Regions from separate parts of the Homo sapiens genome. Here all the other regions are linked to region 5. Evidence: promoter capture Hi-C in human tissues and cell types (Jung and others, 2019). All regions are on one chromosome and are shown on one strand. The core of a region is centred on a gene start or on the middle of the fragment in contact, and the rest is flanking DNA. Distances in the headings are between cores, read along the strand shown. Region 1 has its middle 62 kb from the start of LINC02513. Region 2 holds the start of LINC01258 (long intergenic non-protein coding RNA 1258). Region 3 has its middle 8.2 kb from the start of KLHL5. Region 4 overlaps KLHL5 (kelch like family member 5). Region 5 holds the start of TLR10 (toll like receptor 10). Region 6 has its middle 20 kb from the start of WDR19.

Region 1 (3,840 bases), core at 557-3,056, 480 kb before region 5:
TGAAAACAAGGCCCACACTTGCCACTTGTATTGAATATAGTACTGGCAGTCCTAGCCAGAACATTCAGGCACAAAAATGAAACAAAAGGCATCCAAATATTAATAGGAAAGGAAGAAATAAAATTGTCTCTGGAGATGGAATAATCTTATATGTAGAAAACTGTACCAAAAACTCTATTAGAACTAATAAACTTTATAAAGTTGCAGGATACAAAAATCAGCTGCTTTATTTATTTATTTAAACCTTTGTTTTACATTCAGGGGTAGCTCCTCTCTGCTAGGCAAGTTGTCTCAACAAGTGTTCGCTCCCAGCAGGGAGGGTAGCTCCTCTCTGCAGCTGGTTGCCCCATTGTCTGTTCCAGCTCTCAAAAGAAAGGGTAGCTCCTCTCTGCAGCGGGTTGTCCTGTCATCTGTAGCTCTCAGCAGAGAGGAGGCTCTGGAGTGGGTAGCTCATCTCTGCAGCCAGTCATCCTCTATCTCCTGCTCTCAGCAGAGAAGAGGCCCTGGGGTTGGTAGCTCCTTTCTGCAGCCAGCCATCCTGAAGTCTGCTCAGCTCTGGCTGAGCCTGGGGCTTTTATGGGCCTTAGAGGGGAGGAAGTGCAGGCCAACTGGTCCATGGGTGGCCATGGGCAGTCCTGGAAAAGGCACCACAAGTTCCCACTCTGGTCCATGGGACTGGCAGCTTGGCCCCAGCCTTCAGGCCCTCCCTGCCCTCAGCTCCCCCTATAGTTTCCTTACTATGCTCACAGACCCCCCAAACCTGGAGGGGGCCAAGGTGGCAGGGGGCTGGTGTGTCAGCACTGCCCTGAGTGTTTGCACACCTGGCTGGGCTGTGACAGTGCCTGGGCTCAGTCTCAACTTTGTTCCAAGATCACAGTGGGCACTGACAGCAAGGAGAAGCTAGGCAGTGGAAGCAGGCATTTATAAGCCTGTGAAGGTGGGGTGTGGGTCCTTCCTGGGCCCCCAAGAGTACAGGGATGCCTGGGTCCACTACTGAAATTTGGGCAGCTGCAACTGTGCCAGGGGCAGGGCTCCTGCCTGCTCCATGGAGCAGGAGGTCCAGGTCTGCAGCTGCAGTTTGAACGGCTGCAGCTGCACCTGAAAGAGTGGGACTCCCGCCTGCTCCTGGACCATGAGAGCACAGGGATGCCTGGGTTCACAGCCATATCTTGGGTGGCTGCAGTGGCTCCCAGAGAACTCCTGCCCCAACTTGAAAGGGATGGGGCTCCCACTTATCCCTGGCTCCTGCCCACTCTGTGGAGCATGCAGCCCCCTGCTGCACCTCCCTGCTGCAGCCAGTGTGATGGCAGCGGTTGCTCCAGATGGCCCACTGTTGCCATCAATCTCAATTACATGTGGATTCTAAAAGTCAAATTCATAAAATAGAGATTAGAATGGTGATTTCCAAGGTCTGGAGGGTGGAGAGGGAGGGAAATGGGGGGATGTTTGGCAAAGGGTAAAAGGTTTCAGTTATGCAGGATGAATAAGTTCTAGAGATATTATATACAGCATGGTGATTATAGTTAATATTACTGTAGAATATACATGCAATTTGCTAAGAGAATAGCTCTTAAATATTCTCACCACATACAAAAAAATGGTAACTTATATGAGATGATGGATATGTTAATCAGCTTGTGGTAATCATTTCACAATATACATGTATATCAAGACATTACATTGTCCATCTTAAATATATACAATTTTTATTTTGTCAATTATATGTCAATAGAGAACCCATCCCCCAAAATTTGTGGTTTAGAGTTAGTATGAATAATGCCAATGGGTTTTCAGTTCATAAAAGAGTGATCTGCTGACAAAAGAATGAGGGGAGCAAGTTTTAGGAGATGTGTTGACTGAGGAAGTTTCTTCAGAAGGAGCTGCTGTATATTCCATTATGTTTTTTATTCTCTGTTTGATCTTGCTGTCCTGTGGAACTTTGATGTAATTAGGAAACACATTCCTCAGGTTAAATGTGAATAGGATGGGATGGTCTGTGAATGTGCGGGCGCATGGTGTGGGACTGGCGGGCAGCTCCGCCTGCGGACCTGGTGTGGGATCCAGTAGGTGAAGCCAGCTGGGCTCCTAAGTCTAGTGGAGACTTGGAGAACCTTTATGTCTAGCTAAGGGATTGTAAATACACCAATCAGCACTCTGTGTCTAGCTCAAGGTTTGTAAACACACCAATCAGCACCCTGTGTCTAGCTCAAAGTTTGTAAACGCACCCATCAGTGCTCTGTGTCTAGCTAATCCAGTGGGGACTTGGAGAACTTTTGTGTCTAGCTCAGGGATTGTAAATGCACCAATCAGTACCCTGTCAAAACAGACCAATCAGCTCTCTGTAAAATGGACCAATCAGCAGGATGTGGGTAGGCCCAGATAAGAGAATAAAAGCAGGCTGCCCAAGCCAGCAGTGGCAACCCACTCGGGTCCCCTTCCACACTGTGGAAGCTTTGTTCTTTCGCTCTTTGCAATAAATCTTGCTGCTGTTCACTCTTTGGGTCCGCATTGCCTTTATGAGCTGTAACACTCACTGCGAAGGTCTGCAGCTTCACTCCTGAGGCCAGTGAGACCAGGAACCCACCGGGAGGAATGAACAACTCTGGACGGGAGGAATGAACAACTCCAGAGGTGCTGCCTTAAGCGCTGTAACACTCACTGCGAAGGTCTGCAGCTTCACTCCTGAAGCCAGCAAGACCACAAACCCACCAGAAGGAAGAAACTCCGAACATGTCCGAACATCAGAATGAACAAACTCTGGACACACCATCTTTAAGAACTGTAACACTCACCGCGAGGGTCCATGGCTTCATTCTTGAAGTCAGTGAGACCAAGAACCCACCAATTCCGGACGCAAATGTACTAGTATGAGGGACATCATTACATTTAAGGAGCCTGGGAACACGGTTCTCAGGCTTTCGGTTTGGTTGTTCTGCACAATTTTTTTTTTTTTTTTGAGACAGAGTCTCACTCTGTCACCCAGGCTGGAGTGCAGTGGCACGATCTTGGCTCACTGCAAGCTCTGCCTCCCAGGTTCACACCATTCTCCTGCCTCAGCCTCCCAAGTAGCTGGGACTACAGGCACCTGACACCGCACTCAGCTAATCTGGTTTTTGTATTTTTATTAGAGATGGGGTTTCACCGTGTTAGCCAGGTTGGTCTTGATCTCCTGACCTCATGATCCACCCGCCTCGGCCTCCCAAAGTGCTGGGATTACAGGCGTGAGCCACCACCCCTGGCCTCTTCTGCACAATTTTTTAAGTGGGGGGACTCTTTTGAAAGGACTTCAGGCTGAGACTTCTGAAAGCATGTAGTGAAGGGCTGAGGGACAAGACCAGAAGGTGGGGCCTAGCCAAGGCTTTGTACTCGCATTCTTACACTCTCCTGCCATTGTCCCTGTGATGAAATGAGCTTCATACATATAGTTTGCTTGAAAATACACCTCATGGGCCAGGTGCAGTGGCTCATGCCTGTAATACCAACACTCAAGCCTTTGGAAGGCTGAGGCAGGTGGATCACTTTGAGGTCAGGAGTTCGAGACCAGCCTGGGCAACATGGTGAAACCCTGTCTCTACTAAAAACACAAAAATTAGCCAGACATGGTGGCACATTCCTATAATCCCAGCTACTTGGGAGTCTGAGGCAGGAGAATCGCTGGAACCCAGGAGGTGGAGGTTGCAGCGAGCCGAGATCACACCACTGCATTCCAGCCTGGGCGACAGAGTGAGACTCCATCTCAAAAAATGTTAAAAAGAAAAGAAAAAACACCCCATGAAGTGTCCTATGATCAAATTTCTGAGACAGAGGAGAGATATGGCATGCTCCATTGTGATTAAAAAA
Region 2 (3,894 bases), core at 993-3,492, 260 kb before region 5:
ACATGGAACCTGGATGAGATCCAGAGGGAGAAAAAGGACATTAAATAGAAACTAAGGAAATGTGAGCAAACTATGGACTTTGGTTCGCAATAATGTATCAATACTGGTTTATTTGTCATAACAAACCCACCATAAGGAAGGTGATATTAGCAATGGGGTAAACTGGGTGACAGAGTGTACTGTACACGGGAACTCTATACTATCTTCTCAATTTTCCTGTGAATCTATCACTGTTCTAAAAAGTAAAGTTTATTAAAAAAAAAAAAAAAAGTTTGAGCTCTCACTTTCCCCTCCCCACATCTTATGTTTAGGGCCTGTTATGGGTTGAATTATTTACCCCCAAAATGCATATGTCCAAGTCCTAACACCTAGGACCTCAGTATGACTTTATTTGGAGGTGAGGTCTTTACAGAGGCAATCAAGTGAAAGTGGGGTCATTAGAGTGAGCCCTAATCCATTATGACTAGTGTCCTTATAAAAAAGAGCTATGCACAGAGGGAAGACACAGAGAGAAGATGGGCATCTACAAGGCCAAAGGGAGAGGCCTAGAACAAATCTTTCCTTCACAACCTGCAGAAGGACTCTGACAACATTTTGATCTGGTCTTCCAGACACCAGAACTGGGAGATGATAAATTTCTGTTGTTTAAGCCACCTGGTTCGTGGCATTTTGTTACGGCAGTCTTTGCACGCTAATAAAGGGGCCAAAGAGGAGGGGTTCAACTCATTTGCACCAGAGCAGAAGGATATAGGAGCTGGTGCTTTGAGTTGGAAGGGGCAAAGACCTAAACCATGTAAGCTGATTTCTCAGTGTTATGAAGCGGGGTGGAGGCTTGGAGTTTCTTTGAAATCCTTGCCCCACTTACACAGGGCTTCCCAGACATTGGGGTGTTATCATGGTTACATTCTGCAAGCTGCAGCCTCAAACCCTGGAAGAATGTCTGTGACAAAGCTTGCAGATAGTAAATCAGGCCACCAGGAAAGGAGATCCCCTGGATTTCGGTGTCCCAAAGGCACCAAGAAGGATAATGACCACAAGTGATGGAGAAGGGGCCAGCCGGACACGGTGGCTCACGCCTGTAATCCCAGCACTTTGGGAGGCTGAGGTGGGCAGATCACGAGGTCAGGAGATTGAGACCATCCTGGCTAACACGGTGAAACCCCATCTCTACTAAAAATACAAAAAATTAGCCAGGAGTGGTGGCAGGAACCTGTAGTACCAGCTACTTGGGAGGCTGAGGCAGGAGAATGGCATGAATCTGGGAGGCGGAGCTTGCAGTGAGCTGATATTGCACCACTGCACTCCAGCCTGGGCGACAGGCGAGATTCTGTCTCAAAAAAAAAAAAAAAAAGGGCCTCCTCTCTCATTTTTTAAGCACCACATAAGTCCCAAGGAGCGTGTTATTATAACCTTATGAAAGAGAATGGTTTCCCTAAAATGTAATTGTGATAAGATTTTTCAACCCTTAAAAGCAAAGGCTCAGACCCACAGTTAATTGAGAAATGTGACTTTTTTTTTTTTTTTATAGAGACGGGGACTTGTTATGTTGCCCAAGCTGGTCTTGAACTCCTGGCCTCTAGCAATCTTCCCACCTTGGCCTTTCAAAATGTTGGGATTATAGGAGTGAGCCAACACATCTGGCCAGAAATGTGACATTTTTGATCCAATGGTTGGGGTTCAAATTCAAGCTTGTTAAACAAATTAAGAAAATCAAAATCACCTATAACACGTCGTCTTATACCCATAACTTTCCAGAACACAGGTTGGCTCCTACAGATAATTTTACAATAGGCAGAATGCTAGCAACATTTTATGAGCTGTGGTATGCTTTCTCTAGGCTGTCTGTGATAGGTTGCCTTCATGGAGAGTCCAAAATCAAGACTGGGACAAGGGGGCTGTTGCTTAAGGCTTGAGCCAGATGTTGGATCTCCCCAGCAAGAGCATAGGTCATTTCTGGGACCTTCCCTTTCATCCTCACCAGAGTTCAACATCCACTCTGACAGGGAAAATGCAGAGGACCTACCATGAGCACATGAAATTCTGAAGCGTAACCCATCAGGCTTCTCCTCAGCCTGGCCCTCAAGACAACTAGGTCATCACTGATTCCAGATTCTCCTTATTCCAGACTCCACCCCCTGCAGTGTTCTACGTCTTCTGAAAGGGCCGGTGCAGGGCGCCCATGACTTGTCATTTTTCCTAGGTCAGCACATCCTTGTTCTCACCACTGGAAGTCAAGGCTGAAAAATCTGATTTGGTTCACCTGGCTTACTGGCACTATTTACTGGTGTGCACAGCAGATTTGATTTATGATAAGTCTGTTGAAAATGTCACTTTGGGGCTTTGAGGTGTGGTGGGGGTCGGGGGTGGATGCTGCATTTTGTTTTGGAAAAGAGGGCAGGACTTTTGCCTATGCTTTTCAAATAGGAGGAAAAATTAAGTTCACGGTTTGATTCCTAAAGAATCAAAAAGTGGAGCTAGATAAAAATCATACCAATAGGCAATTGGGAGATCCCAAGCCTTTTTCTTTTCCAGGAGAAACTTGAGTTTGAGTTTTCAAAATGAACGAAATATTTCCAAGGAAGTAAAAGTGGGCCTCCTTTGCCGGCCATCCCTCTTCCCCCATACCCTCTTCCTCTTTTCTCCTCCCTTCCTTCCCCTTTTCTTTTTTCATCTGCCCTTCAGTCACCATCTGTACTACTGTAGGAAATGGGAAAAAGACCTACGCTAAATCAGCATCCTACTCTACCTCTTACAAAGTCAGGAAAATATCTTTTTAAAAAAATGTTTGAAATTAATGCGCACCTATCCAGATCTCTGTTTGAACAAGGGCTGTCATTTCTGATAAAGGCACGGTTTTCCGAGATCGTGGAGAGCCCAAGTGTGGAGCTTTAAGAACCCTGACAACCACCAGTCTTGTTTCGGGTCATGAGTGCACCATTGGTTACCCTGATGTTGAGTCAGCATTCTCCAGACCACATAAAGGTCAGGTCTATCTTCACAAAGTGAAAGTGCTGAATTATATCGAAACCATAGAAAAAAAAATAAGCCAACCCTGCCTCGAGTCTCTAAGTCTCTGCTCCGACAGTTTTGTTTTTATCTGGAATTACAGTAAACTCATTTCGGCATGGTTGCGGCATGTGGTATTCTGAGTAACTGACTCTTCTACCTAATTGCAAGTTGCCACATACTCTCTACAGCCCTTCTTCCTTTCCCTGCGCCAGCTCCTCTGTCAGTTTCACCCGCTTGGCTGGGTCCAGACTTGTCTCCTTTTCTAGGTGGGGCAATAGATCAGTGGCCTGGGATACACCATGGTAGGTGGGACTTCAGAATTCAGGCACAGGCCAGGCGCACTGGCTTACACTTATAATTCCAGCACTTTGGGAGGCCAAGGCTGGCAGATCACTTGAGGTCAGGAGTTCAAGACCAGCCTGGCCAACATGGTGATACCTCACCTTACTAAAAATTCAAAAATTAGCTGGGCGTGGTGGCGGGTGCCTGTAATCCCAGCTACTCAAAAGGCTGAGGCAGGAGAATCGCTTGACTCCAGGAGGCGGTGGTTGCAGTAAGCCAAGATCGTGCCACTGCACTCCAGCCTGGGTGACAGGTCAACTCTGTCTCAAAAAAAAAAAAGAAGAGTTTAGGCACAAAGTCAACCAGAGTTGGACTGTGTGCATCCTGGGAGTCCTGGAGCCCCTTGGGGAACTCCTGCCCACCCTGTGTTGGGGGCAAAGAGTCAGGAAGGTTTGTGCTCAGATTCTGCCTCTGCTATGGCCTCTGATTACTCTGTGACCGCTGGCAAATTGTGACCTTACCTGTAAAGTGGGGACACTAATACCCCCTCACAGGACTGTTGAAAGAACTGGAGATGATGCATGTAAAATCATTTGGCACAGA
Region 3 (3,691 bases), core at 1,053-3,552, 270 kb after region 5:
CTCAGCCTCCCGAGTAGCAGAGATTACAGGTGCCTGCTACCACGCCCAGCTAATTTTTTGTATTTTTACTAGAGATGGGGTTTCACTATTGGCCAGGCTGGTCTTGAACTCCTGACCTCATGATCTGCTCCCCTCAGCCTCCCCAGAGGGCTGCGGATCACAGGTATGAGCCACCACACCTGGCCCATTTACTCTTTTTTATAATGGAGAAAGTGAAATAAGTTGAGAGGAAGGTGAGCCTGGAAAGGCAGGCAAAGACTACTAGATCATTAAAAATCCTGAATTCCATGCTAAAGATCTTAGCTTTTATTTATCTTGTAGCTGATCAAAAACAAACAAAAGTAAATGTTTTAAGTAGAGTGATGTAGTCAAGAATTGCACTTTAGAAGGCTACTTTGGCGATAGCATGGAGAATAAGAGAGGATTTAGACTTGAAGTTGGTTGGTTCATTTCTACTTAATATTTGCCTTTCTTTGGGGAGCTATTTCTCTGATAAGCAGAAAGAAGGAATACTCAAGTCCGTGCTCCGCAGGAGTTTAGAATTGATGGCCTGGTTTCTGCATGGTTCTTTGGAGAGGCCTGAATCAGTTTGTCCTAAATTTATTTGTCATCTCCTTCCCCCCATTGGAGTTTGGGAGGACTACTCTGAAGTGCCTCCTAAGAACATTGGATTTAATCTAATGCATGATTAACACTAAGAAATTCTAGCCTCGACTGATCTCCACTAATCTCCATTTGACCACTAACATCCTCATTTTGCTTTTTGCTGAAGTTAAATTATTGAACAGGTTATTGGTGGCTTTTCTTTGGGTCTAGTTTTAGGGCAAGCTAGGCAGTTTCTTTAATGGTTAACTGGTTTAATTAACATTTGTAGTGATTAACCATTTCTAATTATGAGCAGTTGAGAAATAGTGCTTCACATTTTCTCCTCTTTATTGCTTTCACTGCCCATTACTACCCTTTCCCTACCTGACTTATGCTGTTCTAACAAAAATAGATAATTTACAAAATCTGGATTGGTCCTACAGCAGAATCAAGTTGATCTGTGATTGGCTCATTATGTGATCAGAGAGCCCAGGCAACTTTAATTGATTATACTTGTGTCTGGAGAGTACTGATTCATTATTTTTCAGAAAAAATTTTTTTTAATCTCCATCACCATAAAGCTACGTGAAAGACAGAAACACTTCTGGATTTGGTTGAAGTCAGTAAAAGACAAATTTGTGGTTATCCAGATTGTTACTTTTTATGGCACATAAGATAATTGGGTGTCTCAGCACATGCCAACTGTAATGGATCAGGCAAGAATTTAGCAGTGGTTTTCCATCATTTTTTTAATGATATTACAGTTTTCTTCCTTGTGCACAGCAAATATGTGCTTAACACTGACAAAAATCTAAGGAGTGGATAGCAAGGGAACCTTGTGTTTTACCAGTCATCAAGCTGAAGGAATGTTTTCAAAAGTAACGATTTTGTTATATCATAGTAGTATCAGCTGTAATAACTTTTACAGGTGAGCTTAAAATAAAGGCTATATAATATTAATTTAGCTGAGTTTTAAAATGTCCCTTGCTTTACTACCAGGTATCAGTACTGATAGGTAGTTGTGGAATAAAACGATTCTTTTGATGTTACTGTGGGCCAGTACTTTGTAAGAAACAGCAGCAGCAATTGGGAGGGAGCTAAGTAGGGAGAAATCTGTGAGGCACTTGTACTTGGTGAATAAATGTCATTTTGGCATTTAACTGCAGTTACGATGAACTTAATTTAAGTTTCTTCTTATTTAAGAAATCATGTGTTCCTTAAGTATTCTGTTCCCCCTCCCCGCTGCCTTTTGTGCCTTACTTGCTTTTAGTTTGGTCAGATATTATCGGCAAAGAATTTGTCTGTTCTGCTACTCTCTACTAGACATCTAACCTTGTCCAAGTCAACTATACTCTCAATCTACTTCCTCATTTGCACAACTACTCTACCTGCCTCACAAGGTATTTTTGAGTAGTGAATGAGAATACTTCTTGCTTTGAAAGCAAGAAGCACTGTGGTGTATTCGAAAGTATATGGTTTTTAGGGTCCATCCTGGACCCTGCCACTCACCAGATATAGGTATTAAGTCAGGTTAATTAATCTCACTTCAGTATCTTCATCTATAAGGAGTGGTGGGCTGGGGGCAGGAATGACCCCTGTTGGACAGAGTTTTTCTGACAACAAAATGCCCCAGTCAGTGTAAAGTATTTTATATATTATTGTGCTCATTTGGGCACTTAAGAGATAGTAGCTGCTGCTATAAATCCTGACCGTTACTCAATACTTAGATGTGCCACTTACTTAATCCTATTACTGAAGAGAGAACTGAAGACAAAGGAGGTGAAGTGATTTGCCCAAATTATACAGCTAGCTGGTGAGTGGCTTAGCTGTTGACTCAGGCTCTTTCTGCTGTGTCACTTAGGCTACCATTAATAAGTGATAATGTGGGAAAATAACAGCAGAAGCGCTCTCCACCAACTGCTTCTGAACTGACTTACAGCTCTAACTTGAGGCACACTCTTCTGCTGTAAAATGTACTTACTGATAGCATGGGCCAACTGAACACTCATGGGTAAGCAGGCAGCTCCATAGCTGACCTGTACATCTCTGCTTACTCGTTGAATTGAGTACTTACCAGAAGTTGGTTCTGTTTATTCACAAACCTGTTTTTAACAGTTATACTTGTTATAGTAATTATAAAACATTAGTAAACATGTAAATTGATGAAAGTGTAAAGAAAAGATAATTCTTCCTATGAAAATTAAGTTGAATGCTTTGGGATGCCTCTATATAAATGAGTTATTTTAAAAATTCTATCAAGTTGGATAAAGGCTGGATAATTCTAAGAGACTAGGGAAAAAGTCATCAAAGTCTAAAGCAGGGCCTGTCAAAGGCCATCAACCAGCTACCTGGTCTTCAGACTACTAGGGGTCCTCAAGAATATAAGGAGTGCACATTAGAATATTAATTAACTACATTAGGCAAACTAATGCACACTGGTTCAGCAAATGTTTTGTTTTCATGGTGAGACTTTCTCCTTGAAGAAAGCGATGCATTAATTTACAATCTGGCACAAGTTTTTCCTGTGGTGGACAGACCACTGGTCTAATGGATTCTGTATTCATATTATTTCAGAAGTGCTTTTAAGTTCTGTTTCCATTTATAGAAACCATAAGTGGAAATCATAGATGATGGATCATTGTGGGTACAGCTTATGCAAGACAAAGGACCCAAACTCAGTAGGAGACCCCTATCAAATATATGGCATTAACCCTATATGAAAAGATTTACAAATGAATGTGCATGTATATGTTCAAGTTAAAATAACATCTTTAAAGGAATGTATTTATTATTTTTATGATTATTGACTTTTTTCTTTAGTGGACCATCTACAGGTTTCATCTGAAAAGGGGGCTTTCACTGTACTCAGAGTTCCAGGTTGACTGGAAATAAATCTTTGACCTCTGCAGCTGTCTAAGCTTGCCTTGCTATATCTTAGCTTATCATATGCATTCTGTGTGTATCTTCGTCATGCTGTATTATAATTTTTAAATTTAATGTCAGTTCCTGCATTGTACGTGATATGGTAAAGGGACATAGTTTAGTTTAAAGGTTAAAGTTTACTCCATTTACTTTTTTTGCCTTGATTTTTTTCCTCTTGATCTTC
Region 4 (3,914 bases), core at 968-3,467, 320 kb after region 5:
TCAAAAGAAAAGTATTCCCTAAATGTATTCATGAAGAAAGATGATTAGCTTTTTATTTGTTGGAGGGAATTTTCTAATTTGATTTGATTTATTTAATGGAAGGGATAATATTTTAAGATCAAATTTAGAGTAATTAAATATACTATTACTATGTATGTTACTATTATAATGTAAGCATATGAGTAAAAAACCTCACTATAGCTAGAAACTATAAAGAAAAAGTATTCAAACATATTTTTCAACAGCTGTACTAAGTATAAGGGACTCTGTTTGGTGCTGTGAAAAATACAGAGGTAAAGGCCGGGCAAAATGGCTCATGCCTGTAATCCCAGCACTTTGGGAGGCCAAGGCGGGAGGATCACTTGAGGCCAGGAGTTCGAGACCAGCCTGGCCAATACAGCAAAACCCTGTTTCTACTAAAAATACAAAATATTAGTTGGGAGTGGTGGTACATACCTGTAATCCCGGTTTGGGAGGCTGAGGCACAAGAATTGCTTGAACTTGGGAGGTGGAGGTTGTGGTGAGCCGAGATCATACCACTGCACTCCAGCCTGGGTGATAAAGCAACAGTCTGTCTCAAAAAAAAAAAAAAATATATATATATATATATACACACACACACACACACATATACACACACACACATATATATATACATATATACACACATATATACACACATATATATACACACACATATATATGTATACATATATATATATATATGCATGCAGAGGTAGAAAAAGACTTGTCTATCCCAAATAATTTAGAATTCTGTAGGGTAAATAAAAAATAATAAAAACTATAACACGAGAAAATCTATATGTATAACACAACTATTTCTAAATTTTAGGAAGTTATCAATAATACTAGTGCTCTGATGACCAAATTATAACAAATACTTTAGAATAAGTGTTAGTCAAGATTATAATTCTATAAGGCTAGCGCGGCTTACATGATGTATTAGAAGCTTAGAAGAGAGAAGTGGGTTCTAGTTGAACTCTTCACAATTGGGGGTTAGGTTTTTTTAGAGGGTTTTGTTTTTTTTGTTTTTTTAAACATCTGCTCATCTTAACTCATAAAGAGAACAAAGGAGTCCTGGAATCTTCCAATTCTTAAAAAAAAAAAAAAAGAAAAGAAAAACATAGATGCCTTCAGGCAGCAACTTCCTGAACTCCCTACCGTCATAGTTCCCAAAGTACCCGATCCGTACTTACCCCGCCCTTGCTTATTGCAGTAGAATATGTTCCCTCCTCCCGTGAAAGACAGCTCTTCTGCCTATGCCCTGGATACTGTGCTTTCCTGCCTCCCCACGAACCATAATGAACATGGTTCATTATGTTCGTTATGATCCCTTTCATCTCCTGTATTTTTAGCTGCTTTCCTCTCAACCAGATCCTTTTCATTCACATTTAAGCAAACTCTGAGTTTTCAAATTTTCAAAGCAAAACAAAACAAAACCTTCCTCAACTCTTCTAGTAATTTCTATCTCTCCTTACTTTGATAGCCAGACTTCTCAGAAGAATCTTCTATGCTCACTGTGTTTCTTCATCTCCCAGTCACGTCTCAACCACTCAATAAGGAACCTCCCCCTGAAGTCATCAGTGACCTCTGTGTGGCTAAATCCAATAATACTTCTGAGTCTTCATCTTATTTGATCCTTTCAGTAGGATACTGTTAGCAGACCTACTGCTATAAACTTTCTTCCTTTGGCTTCCATGACACTTAACGCCTCTGCTTTTTTCTCCCCCGCTTCTGGGTGTTGTTTCTCACCCTCCTTTGACAGTTAATCCTTGTCCATTTGACCTTTTCTTACTGGGGCCTGTGTATGCCCTGGAGAATAGTAGGAGATGAGGACACAGAGGTAGGCAGAGGCTAGATCATGCAGGACCTTCATGAAATATAATAAAATTATTATTCTCAATGCTAATAAGATTATATTTTTGTATCTGTAATTTCATAAAATTACCAATCATGGTATAATTTCTATTTACATAACTTCTATATATTACTATGAAGGAGCAACAAGCATTGAAAAGTATGATCTCCGTACAAATATGTGGACTCCAGTAGCAAATATGAATGGGAGGAGGCTACAGTTCGGTGTTGCAGTGCTAGATGACAAACTGTATGTGGTTGGAGGAAGAGATGGACTGAAGACTTTGAATACTGTAGAGTGCTACAACCCCAAAACAAAAACTTGGAGTGTGATGCCACCTATGTCCACACATAGACATGGCCTTGGTAAGTACAACTATGCAGATTCACTCAAAATATCACATAGCTCCCACGGCACATTTACATTCTGAACCAGGCAGAGGACCCGTGTGGCAGCCACTGCGTCAGCAGCAGTCACCAAGCATTCCTCACATGCTGCAATAAAGAATTTGGTAGGTCATCATAAAAGATGAGGCCGGATGCAGTGGCTCATGCCTATAATCCCAGCAATTTGGGAGGCCAAAGCAGGAGGATTGCTTGAGCCTAGGAGTTCAAGACCATCCTGGGCAACATAGGAAAAAAGTCTCTACAAAAAATTTAAAAATTAGCTGGGAAATTTTTTTTTTTTAATTAAAAAATTTGGTGGCTTGGCCTATAGTCCCAGCTACTCAGGAGGCTGAGGAGGGAGAATCATTTGAGCCTGGGAGGTCAAGGCTGCAGTGAGCTGTGATTGTGCCACTGTACTCCAGCCTGGCAAAACATCTATCTCAAAAAAAAAAAAAAAAAAAAGGATCAATACCAGTGAAGGTATGGTTGAGTTTAGATAGTATGGTTTATACAATACTCAATTTATTAATACCACCAGAGTAGAGGCTTCCCCCAAATAACAATAGAGAGTAATGAAAACTCTCTAGGGATGAAGATTGAAATGGGAATGGTGGTGGGTACAGTAAAAGATCAAAGAGACATAGATTTCCACTAGTTGTAATTAGTTCTCAGTGAAAGATGATTTTAAGTTTGATAAGGAAATAAAACCAGAGGGTTAAGGCAAAGACACAGAGAAGGAGCTTAAAATTAACTATATGAAATTTAACACAGTAAACTTGTAAAACATTACTCCTGAGTCCATAAAATCAACTATTATATAGGCACAGACTGGGAAAATGTGAGTTAAGCATGAATGAGACTTAGAAATTTGGGTTGACCATAAAATCCAGGGTAAATAGAGTGAGTCAACTGCGTGCTTCCCCTCCCCTACCATGGGGAAGAAAATATAATTCTAACACAGGCTAAATCCTTATGGATATAGTACATAGAATGTGATTGCTCATAGTCCAGCTGTTTCGTGCAGATGACATTGTGCATTGAATACTGTCATTAGTTCTAGGTGCCATACAAAAGACTTTATTGAACTGCAGCAAGTTGAAAGGAAAATGATCACATAGCTCAAAACTGTCTTCTTTAAGCCCTAATTTAAAATTTTTGTGTCATTCAAAGCAGCAATGTTCTTATTAAGTTACCTTATAATTAAATAACTGTTACAAATTTGAACTTAAGAAATAAACTTTTTTTTTTTTTTGAGACGGAGTCTCGTTCTGTTGCCAGGCTGAAGTGCAGTGGCACAATCTCGGCTCACTGCAACTTCCGCCTCCCGGGTTCAAGTGATTCCCCTGCCTCAGCCTCCCTAGTAGCTGGGACTACAGGCATGTGCCACCACGCCCAGCTAATTTTTGTATTTCCAGTAGAGACACGTTTCACCATGTTGTCCAGGATGGTCTCGATCTCTTGACCTCGTAATCTACCCAACTCAGCCTCCCAAAGTGCTGGGATTACAGGCATGAGCCACCACGCCTGGCCTAAAATAAACTTTTAAGAAACATTCCTTTTATCTCTTCATATGTGGTAATTATATGAAAATTTCATTTAAAAAAGGAGTTCTGCTAAATTTTTTTTTTTTTTGAGACAGGTTCTTGCTC
Region 5 (3,928 bases), core at 594-3,093:
ATACTTATGCATTATGACATTTTATAAAAACAACTTTTACATAGAGACAGGGTCTCACTATGTTGCCAAGGCTGCTCTTAAACTCCTGGCCTCCAGCAATCTTCCCACCTCAGCCTCCCAAATGGGTGTGATTAGAGGTGTGAGCCACTGTGCTTGGCCTCATTAAAGCAATTTTAAAAGTAGGACATACACTTTTTTTTTTTTTTGAGATGGAGTCTCGCTCTGTTGCCCAGGCTGGAGTAAAGTGGTATGATCTCAGCTCACTGCAAGCTCCACCTCCCAGGTTCAAGCGATTCTCCTGCCGCAGCCTCCTGAGTAGCTGGGATTACAGGCACCTGCCATCACACCCGGCTAATTTTTGTATTTTTAGTAGAGATGGGGTTTCACCATGTTGGTGATGTAGTCTATAAATAGTATATATATGTTAATATCATATCCCTACTACTACGTTAAAAGCAGGTAAAAAACAGAGAATGACCTTCCTTAATACATCTTTAATATCTTATAATTTAAAAGTCCAAGTCAAAAGACATCATCAAATGACAACTAGTGTTTTACCAAAGAATATTTAATCATCTAATTTATCTTTTCCCAATGATATAAAGAAATAGAAAAGAGATTAAGAACCTATTGAATGTTGAATGATCTTTGCAACATAAGAGTAAGAATGACTTCTTTTCAGTATTTCCTACGTGTCTGACATGGAGCTAAGTGTTTTATGTCCATTACCTTGTTTAATCCCTCAATGACTCAACAAAATGGCGGCCATTATTATTCATATTTTACAGATGGAGGAGCTAAAGCCCAGAGGTAAAGTAACTTGCCCAAGATGACCAACTGAAGAAGCAGAGATTTGAACCCAGACCTGTCTGGTTCCTTCTGGATGGTAACTAAACCCAAATGCAAGGCACCTCAAACCTTGAAATGAGGTGGCTTAAGATGTAACGACATCCTAAGGACCGAATCACTGAGGTTGAATCCATTGATCTGACCAGCTGCCATGGCGGCCACTTCCTCCTTTCTCACCCCATGCCCCTGTCTATGAAGCTTCATGCAGCTGCTGTGGGACACTCTGCTAGGTGCCACAAAGTTCAAGAGACTTTGCCTACATGTATAAATATATTCTTAGGAAAGTTATAAGTTCACAAGAATTGAAATAAAACTCGAAGTGCATCCTATTCCTAATTAATAGCTCAGTGTAGGTGGTCTGGGAGAAAGCTTATCAAGAAACCAAATGCTCACAGGTTGTTAACCATCCTCTTCTTTACAGCAACCACATATGGCCCTCTTTGTCCACTTCTGAAGGAAACGGAATAAGAACTGCATTGTACAAGATCCATCAGATCTGCCCCTACTTTTAAACAGGTAACACAAATGCAGAACTTTTCAACGGGGTAAAGGAGCAACAAATATGCCTTAAATAGCCAAAGGTTTCATCCAGCAGAGGTTAACATACGCTGTGGGGAAATAAGAGCTAGAAAAAACTTGCCACAGTGCATAGGACCGTTCAATCTGAATAGAAGAGCTGACCAGGTTTGATCCGCAATCAGTGAAAAGAAACCCACGCTCTCAAGCATCTGCAAGAAATTCCTCAGATCAATAGCCCCAAGGTCACTAATCATTAATCTAGACAAAATAGTAAATACTAAAAATCTAAATAACCCTACTTCCCTCCCCTCAATATTAGCTCAAATTATCTCCTTTTTAGAAAATACCCATGCAGCCCTTATATCTTTTTAATGAGAGTTACAACAAACAAAGCTAAGGTTCTTACCCCACGGCTTGCACTCTCTCAGCAGAGCTGCAGGTGCGTGGATGATTCGTTGACACGGTCAGAATTGGCTGCAGGAGGGAATTGAATCGAGGTTTTCTGTAAAGCTTAAACCCCATCCGCCCTCTTCTGCATGCTACTGGTATTGCATGTTATATATATTCATTATAATCTTAGCACTTTTTTAAATTGTGGTCAAATACACATAACATAGGAGTTATCATGCTCACCATCTTTCTATTTTTATTTTTATTTTTATTTTTTTTGAGGTAGGGTCTCACTTTGTCACCCAGGCTGGAGTGCAGTGGTGTGATCACTGCTCACTGCAGCCTTGACCTCTTGCGCTAAAGCCCGCAAGAGGCTGGGCTTCTCAGTCCCGCAAATGTCTGGGACTACAGGCGCTCACCAACTGGCCTGGCTAAGTTTTTTGTATTTTTTGTAGAGACGGGGTTTCGCCAGTTGCCCAGGCTGGTCTTGAACTCCTGAGCTCAAGTGATCTGCCTGTCTCGGCCTCCCAAAGTGCTAGGATTACGGTGTGAGCCACCGCGCCTGACCTTAAGCATTTTTAAATGTACAATTTAGTGGCATTAATTAAGTACATTCACACTGTTGTGCAACCACCACCACTGCCCATCTCCAAAGATTTTTCGTCATCCCAAACTGAAATTCTATGCCATTAAAAAATAATTTCCCATTTTCCCCTTCCCTCAGACCCTGGAAACTATAATTCTACTTTCTGTCTGTGTGAATTTGACTACTCTAGGTACCTCATGTCCGTGGAGTTATACCATATTTGGTTTTTTGTGACTGGCTTATTTCATTGAGCATAATGTCTTTAAGGTTCATCCATATCATTTCTATTATTATTACATAGAATAATAGAATCTTTCCTTCCTTTTTTAAGGCTGAATACTATTTTGTTGTATGTACGTCCCACATTTTGTTCATTCATTCATCCATCAATGGACATTTGGGTAGTTTTCACCTTTTGGCTCTTGTGAATAATGCTGCTGTGAACGTGGTGCACAAATATCTATTTAAGTTGGTACTTAACATTCTTTTGAGTCTATACCTAGAAGTGGAATTCACGGATCGTATGACCATTCTGTTTAATTTTTTGCAGAACTACCATACTGGTTTTCCACAGCATCTTAGAGCTCTTTGATGATGCTTTTCTTCAAGGTGCAGGTCGGTTATCCCTTTCATCAGTTGGGTGGGGCAGTCATGTGATGATGGGCAGGAGTAGGAATGGTGACTCCATAATTTCAGCAATCAGGCAGGAAGAGGGTGGAAAGGAGTTATCTAGAGCAGTGGTCCCCAACCCCTGGGCCACAGACAGGTACCAGTTCATGGCCTGTTAGGAACCGAGCCACACAGCAGGAGGTGAGTGGTGGGTAAGCAAATGAAGCTTCATCTGTATTTACAGTCGCTCCCCATCGCTTGCATTACCACCTGAGCTCCACACCCTGTCATATCAGTGGCAGCATTAGATTCTCATAGGAGCTTGGACCCTACTGTGAGCTGCATATGGGAGGGATCTAGGTTGCGTGCTCCTTATGAGAATCTAATGTCTGATGATCTGTCACTGCTTCCCATCATGTCAGATGGGACCATCTAGTTGCAGGAAAACAGGCTCAGGGCTTCCACTGATTCTACATTATGGTGAGTTGTATAATTATTTCATTATATATTACAATGTCATAATAATAGAAATAAAGTGCACAATAAATGTAATGTGCTTGAATCATCCCGAAACCATCTCTCCTCCATCTCCAAACCCGGTCTGTGGAAAAACTGTCTTCCATGAAATTGGTCCTGGTGCCAAAAAGATTGGAGACCTCTGACCTAGAGGCCTTTTCTTGAAGTGAAGTGGTAAAATAAGCATGGTATTTTTTAAAATGTAGATCGCAAAGTACGGATCAATTTTTAAAGCAACATTTTTGAGGTTTTTTTCATACTTGACTTAAGATTTAGGTGACTGCTGGAGATCACGAGTAAAGAAGAAAATTTCCAGATGGATTTGTCTACAGGAGGAATGATCAATTTAAACATGAATGATTATAATAGATTTATGTCTTATAAAATTGGGGAGTGGGTGGGTTCTTAAAATACATTTTTTAACTATCATATTGGGGTTTTTAAATTTAAAATGTAGTC
Region 6 (3,822 bases), core at 1,125-3,624, 380 kb after region 5:
AAGTTGTTTTCTTAAAAAGCAAAGTTATCTTTCTACAACACATATCCAATCACATCCCTCTCCTCGAAAACCTTCAGTTGAAGACATGTAGTCCAGACTTCTCAGCATGACATACAAGGTCCTTCCAGCCTCAGCTCCCACAGGCCTGCATATTAGAAAAGGCATCAATCATGGAAAATGCCAGGACTTTCATATCGCCATGCCTTTGTTTAGATTGTTCTCTCTCTGGAATACCCATTCTAATCTCTTTTCCATCCAACCAAACCCTACTCGTTCTTCAAAGCCCATATCTTCAACATTATAAGCTTTTCCTGATTCTTTCCACATACCCTCAATCCATTGATATTAAACCCGTCCTATGCTCCACACTTCCTTCACACCTCAGTAACAGCAATAGGATTGAAGTACAGTTCGATGTAGAGCAAGGCACTTGATAAATGCTCAGAAAATGTTTGTTAAATGAGAGCATTGATTTTAAAATAATTTTGTGGGGTTTTTTTGTTTTTATGAGACAAGGTCTCACTGCAGTCACCCAGGCTGGAGTGCAGTGGCATGATCTTGGCTCACTGCAACCTCCACCTCCTGGGTTCAAGCGATTCTCCCACCTCAGCCTCCCAAGTAGTTGGGACTACAGGCGTGACCCACCACATCCAGTTAATTTTTTCTTTTCCTTCCTTCCTTCCTTCTTTCTTCTTTTTTTTTTTTTTTTTGGTATTTTTTGTAGAAATGGGGTTTCGTCATGTTGCCTAGGCTGGTCTTGAACTTGTGAGCTCAAGTGATCCACCAGCTTCGGTCTTCCAATGTGCTGGGACTACAGGCATGAGCCGCCACACCCAGCCCACCCAGCTAATTTTTAAATTTTTTTGTAGAGGCAGGGTCTCACTATGCTGCCCAGGCTGGTTTTAAATTCCTGGGCTCAAGCAATCCTCCTGCCTTGGACTCTCAAAGGGCTGGAATTACAGGCGTGAGCCACTGCGCCCAGCCTGAAACTTTTTATTATGAAAACGTTCAGGCATACATAAGAATAGACACAATAGTATAATAAATTCCCATGTGATTATCCCCCAGCTTTAACAATTATGAACATTTTACTCCGATCTTGTGTAATCTCTATTGCTTCCTGTCATCACTGTCTGGATATTCTCCTCCATACATTTTCTTTTTTGAAGAAATTGCATCTGTCATTTTTCAACCTAGAAAATGTTTTTTATTAGTTTGATGGGTATTATACCTTTATTTTTATCAAGATTTATTGCGATATACATGAATTATAATGTTGAAATAAAAAACAATTTCAACCTTGAACTTCTCGTTGCTTAATAACAGTAACAACATTACCTCACCTATTACTTATTGAGTGCCTACTATAGACCACGCATGGCTAGCAACCATCATATATGTTATCTCATCTTTTTAACAACCCTCTAAAGTGGATATTATTAGCTGTATTATAGACAAGAAAAGTGAAGCTGAGAAAGTTATTTCCAAGTTATTAAAGGATTATTACTGAGTTCAGATCAGTTTGTCTGTGTTTTCCACTCTACCTCATTACCTCTAAATATCCCTTCCCTTATATCTACCTACTGAAATCTTCTTATCTATTCTGTCAGCCTAACGAGAAAAAACAGAATACATAATAAAAATCAGAAAATGAGGCAGTAATCAGGGTCCCTAATTTTAAAATTATAAAATGATATAAGACAATAAAATTATATAAAATATCAAATGCATCTTGCAGCTTAAAAATAATAAACTGAAAAGTGACTTTCAGAAGGCATATAATAGGAAAAGATTTGTTGCTTCATAAACAATCAATATTAAAAAATACATGCTGTTTTTCATATAACTCATATGACAAAAAGTGAATGGGATTTTGGAAACAATTATCTAGGGATCAGTGACCTCAAAGTGTGCTCCCTGGACCAGCAAAATCAGCATCAGCCAGGAACTGCAATTTGAAATGCAAATAAGTTGACTTATTTGTTATGAGAAAACTAAAAATCTATTTAAGATTATATGCTTTTTTATTGCTCGATACTGAACAGCATAATAAATGTGTTAAATTTTTTATTTGACCTAAATAAACGTGTTAAATATACACATATACCATATTCATAAATACATAGTAAAATAGATATACATAGGGGCAAAAACCAGAAGGAAATATGCAAAAAAAGTAATATACATTGATAATTGGATTTTGTTTTCTTTTCTCTTTCTTTTTAACTGATTAAATTGTCTCTAAAACTAAATTCCATAAACATTTTTATTCCTATTTTATACATGGGAGCACAGGTTCAGAGGAGATAATTTTCCCAAGGTCAAAGAATCAGTAAGTTCCATGAACTGGGTTTAAAGTAGAGGTTCATGACCAAGTTCAATTTGCTATTACACCATGTGGTCCTTAAGCAAGTCTTATCATTTTACAATAGAAACACTTAAAATATAAATATGTATTGTAAGGCAATGCACAAAAATAAATTTTTTAAGAACCCAAATGTGATGTTTAATATCATGTTTAAAGATCAAATGTGCAATGGTCATTATCTACCAGCTTCGTTTAGTTACTAGGTTTTTGCAATGTTGAAAAAATTATGTTCACAAGCTTGAAAAATGTCTCAGCCAATTTCTTGAAAATATGTTAAATTGACCATATTATTATGGTCAATTTATTATTATGTAATTTTTATTTATTATGTAATATTTATCAAACTTGAGGTAAAAGTGAATAGTAAAAATGAAAAACTAAGATAGTAGAATTTTATAATATAATAAAAAAGATAACAATGGGTATAGTATATCAGTAAGTTCTAGCATTCCTAAAAGACTTCCAAAAAAAGTCCTTTGGTAGGACTAAGGATTGTTGAGTGGGCAATATTAATCATAAGGAAAATGATTAAGAAGAGGGAGAAATGTAAGGTTAGTTAATAAAAATAGAATAAAGTCAGTGAAAGTAGGGGAATTATGTAAGTTACTAAGACCTTATAGAAAACAAAAAAACAAAATCTAACCAAAAAAAAAAAAAAAAAGACAGAATAAAGAGGAGACTAATGTGGAATGTTTACATTCTTGCCTCTACCAGAATTCTAGGCCAAAAGTAGAGCATCAGTTTGACTTTCTGGAAAGATTTCTTCTGAGACTGAATTAATTGATATGGTTTGGCTGTGTCCTCACCCAAATCTCATCTTGAATTGTTACTCCCACAATTCCTACGTGTCGTGGGAGGGACCCAGTGCCAGTGAAAGGTAATTGAATCATGGGGGCGGGTCTTTCTGGTGCTGTTTTCATGATAGTGAATAAGTCTCACGCGATCTGATGGTTTTATAAAGAGGGGTTCCCCTGCACAAGCTCTCTCTCTGCCTGCCGCCATCCACTGAAGATGCGACTTGCTCCTCCTTGCCTTCTGCCATGATTGTGGGGCCTCCCCAGCCCTGTGGGACTGTAAGTCCATTAAACCTCTTCTTCTTCCCAGTCTCGGGTATGTCTATATCAGCAGCATGAAAACGGATTGATACACTAAATAAATATAAGGTGTCCTGGCCATAGGACCCCCTCCTGAGTATAATAAAAATATATGTGGTATTTTAACACAATTAGGAGGTAGCAAGCTCTCTACCCCGGGTGAAGGTCTGGAGAGGAGTTTGGGCTGAGTTTAGTATAAAAGAAGATCTGCATCTTATACCATATGTAAAAACTAATTCTATATTAAAGACTTAAGTGTAAAAAAATTAAAATCATTCAATAAAGTCTCCTATAAACAGATAAAAACTTCAAAGCCAAGACTAGAAACCAAGTAGCTATTTTTAAAATAGACATGTTTAA

Evidence for each region. Contacts are between HindIII fragments. The study calls those that stand out against the background at their distance.
Region 1: a fragment that was not itself captured here is called in contact with the fragment with the promoter of TLR10 in region 5 in 4 of the 25 tissues and cell types used here (dorsolateral prefrontal cortex, lymphoblastoid cells, small bowel and 1 more).
Region 2: a fragment that was not itself captured here is called in contact with the fragment with the promoter of TLR10 in region 5 in 1 of the 25 tissues and cell types used here (lymphoblastoid cells).
Region 3: a fragment that was not itself captured here is called in contact with the fragment with the promoter of TLR10 in region 5 in 1 of the 25 tissues and cell types used here (lymphoblastoid cells).
Region 4: a fragment that was not itself captured here is called in contact with the fragment with the promoter of TLR10 in region 5 in 2 of the 25 tissues and cell types used here (dorsolateral prefrontal cortex and lymphoblastoid cells).
Region 6: a contact is called between a fragment that was not itself captured here and the fragment with the promoter of TLR10 in region 5, in 1 of the 25 tissues and cell types used here (dorsolateral prefrontal cortex).

Annotation. Positions count from the first base shown.
Region 1 is chr4:38,302,646-38,306,485 of GRCh38, forward strand. No RefSeq gene overlaps it. Among named protein-coding and RNA genes, the nearest start is that of LINC02513, 62 kb to the right of the region's middle. The HindIII fragment of the contact is 7,017 bases long and covers 1-3,840 here.
Region 2 is chr4:38,521,080-38,524,973 of GRCh38, forward strand. LINC01258 (long intergenic non-protein coding RNA 1258) reads right to left here and starts at 2,101. Exons shown (of 8, transcript NR_110951.1): 1 at 2,024-2,101. RefSeq lists an enhancer at 3,275-3,324. The HindIII fragment of the contact is 4,596 bases long and covers 1-3,894 here.
Region 3 is chr4:39,052,235-39,055,925 of GRCh38, forward strand. It overlaps a transcript of KLHL5 not described here. Among named protein-coding and RNA genes, the nearest start is that of KLHL5, 8.2 kb to the right of the region's middle. The HindIII fragment of the contact is 5,541 bases long and covers 1-3,691 here.
Region 4 is chr4:39,101,268-39,105,181 of GRCh38, forward strand. It overlaps KLHL5 (kelch like family member 5), which reads left to right. Exons shown (of 11, transcript NM_015990.5): 7 at 2,020-2,244. LOC105374418 (a long non-coding RNA gene) reads right to left here and starts at 496. Exons shown (of 3, transcript XR_925235.4): 1 at 457-496. The HindIII fragment of the contact is 7,362 bases long and covers 1-3,914 here.
Region 5 is chr4:38,781,147-38,785,074 of GRCh38, forward strand. TLR10 (toll like receptor 10) reads right to left here and starts at 1,844. Exons shown (of 4, transcript NM_030956.4): 1 at 1,775-1,844. RefSeq lists enhancers at 724-933, 996-1,165. The HindIII fragment of the contact is 2,112 bases long and covers 417-2,528 here.
Region 6 is chr4:39,160,921-39,164,742 of GRCh38, forward strand. No RefSeq gene overlaps it. Among named protein-coding and RNA genes, the nearest start is that of WDR19, 20 kb to the right of the region's middle. The HindIII fragment of the contact is 5,116 bases long and covers 1-3,822 here.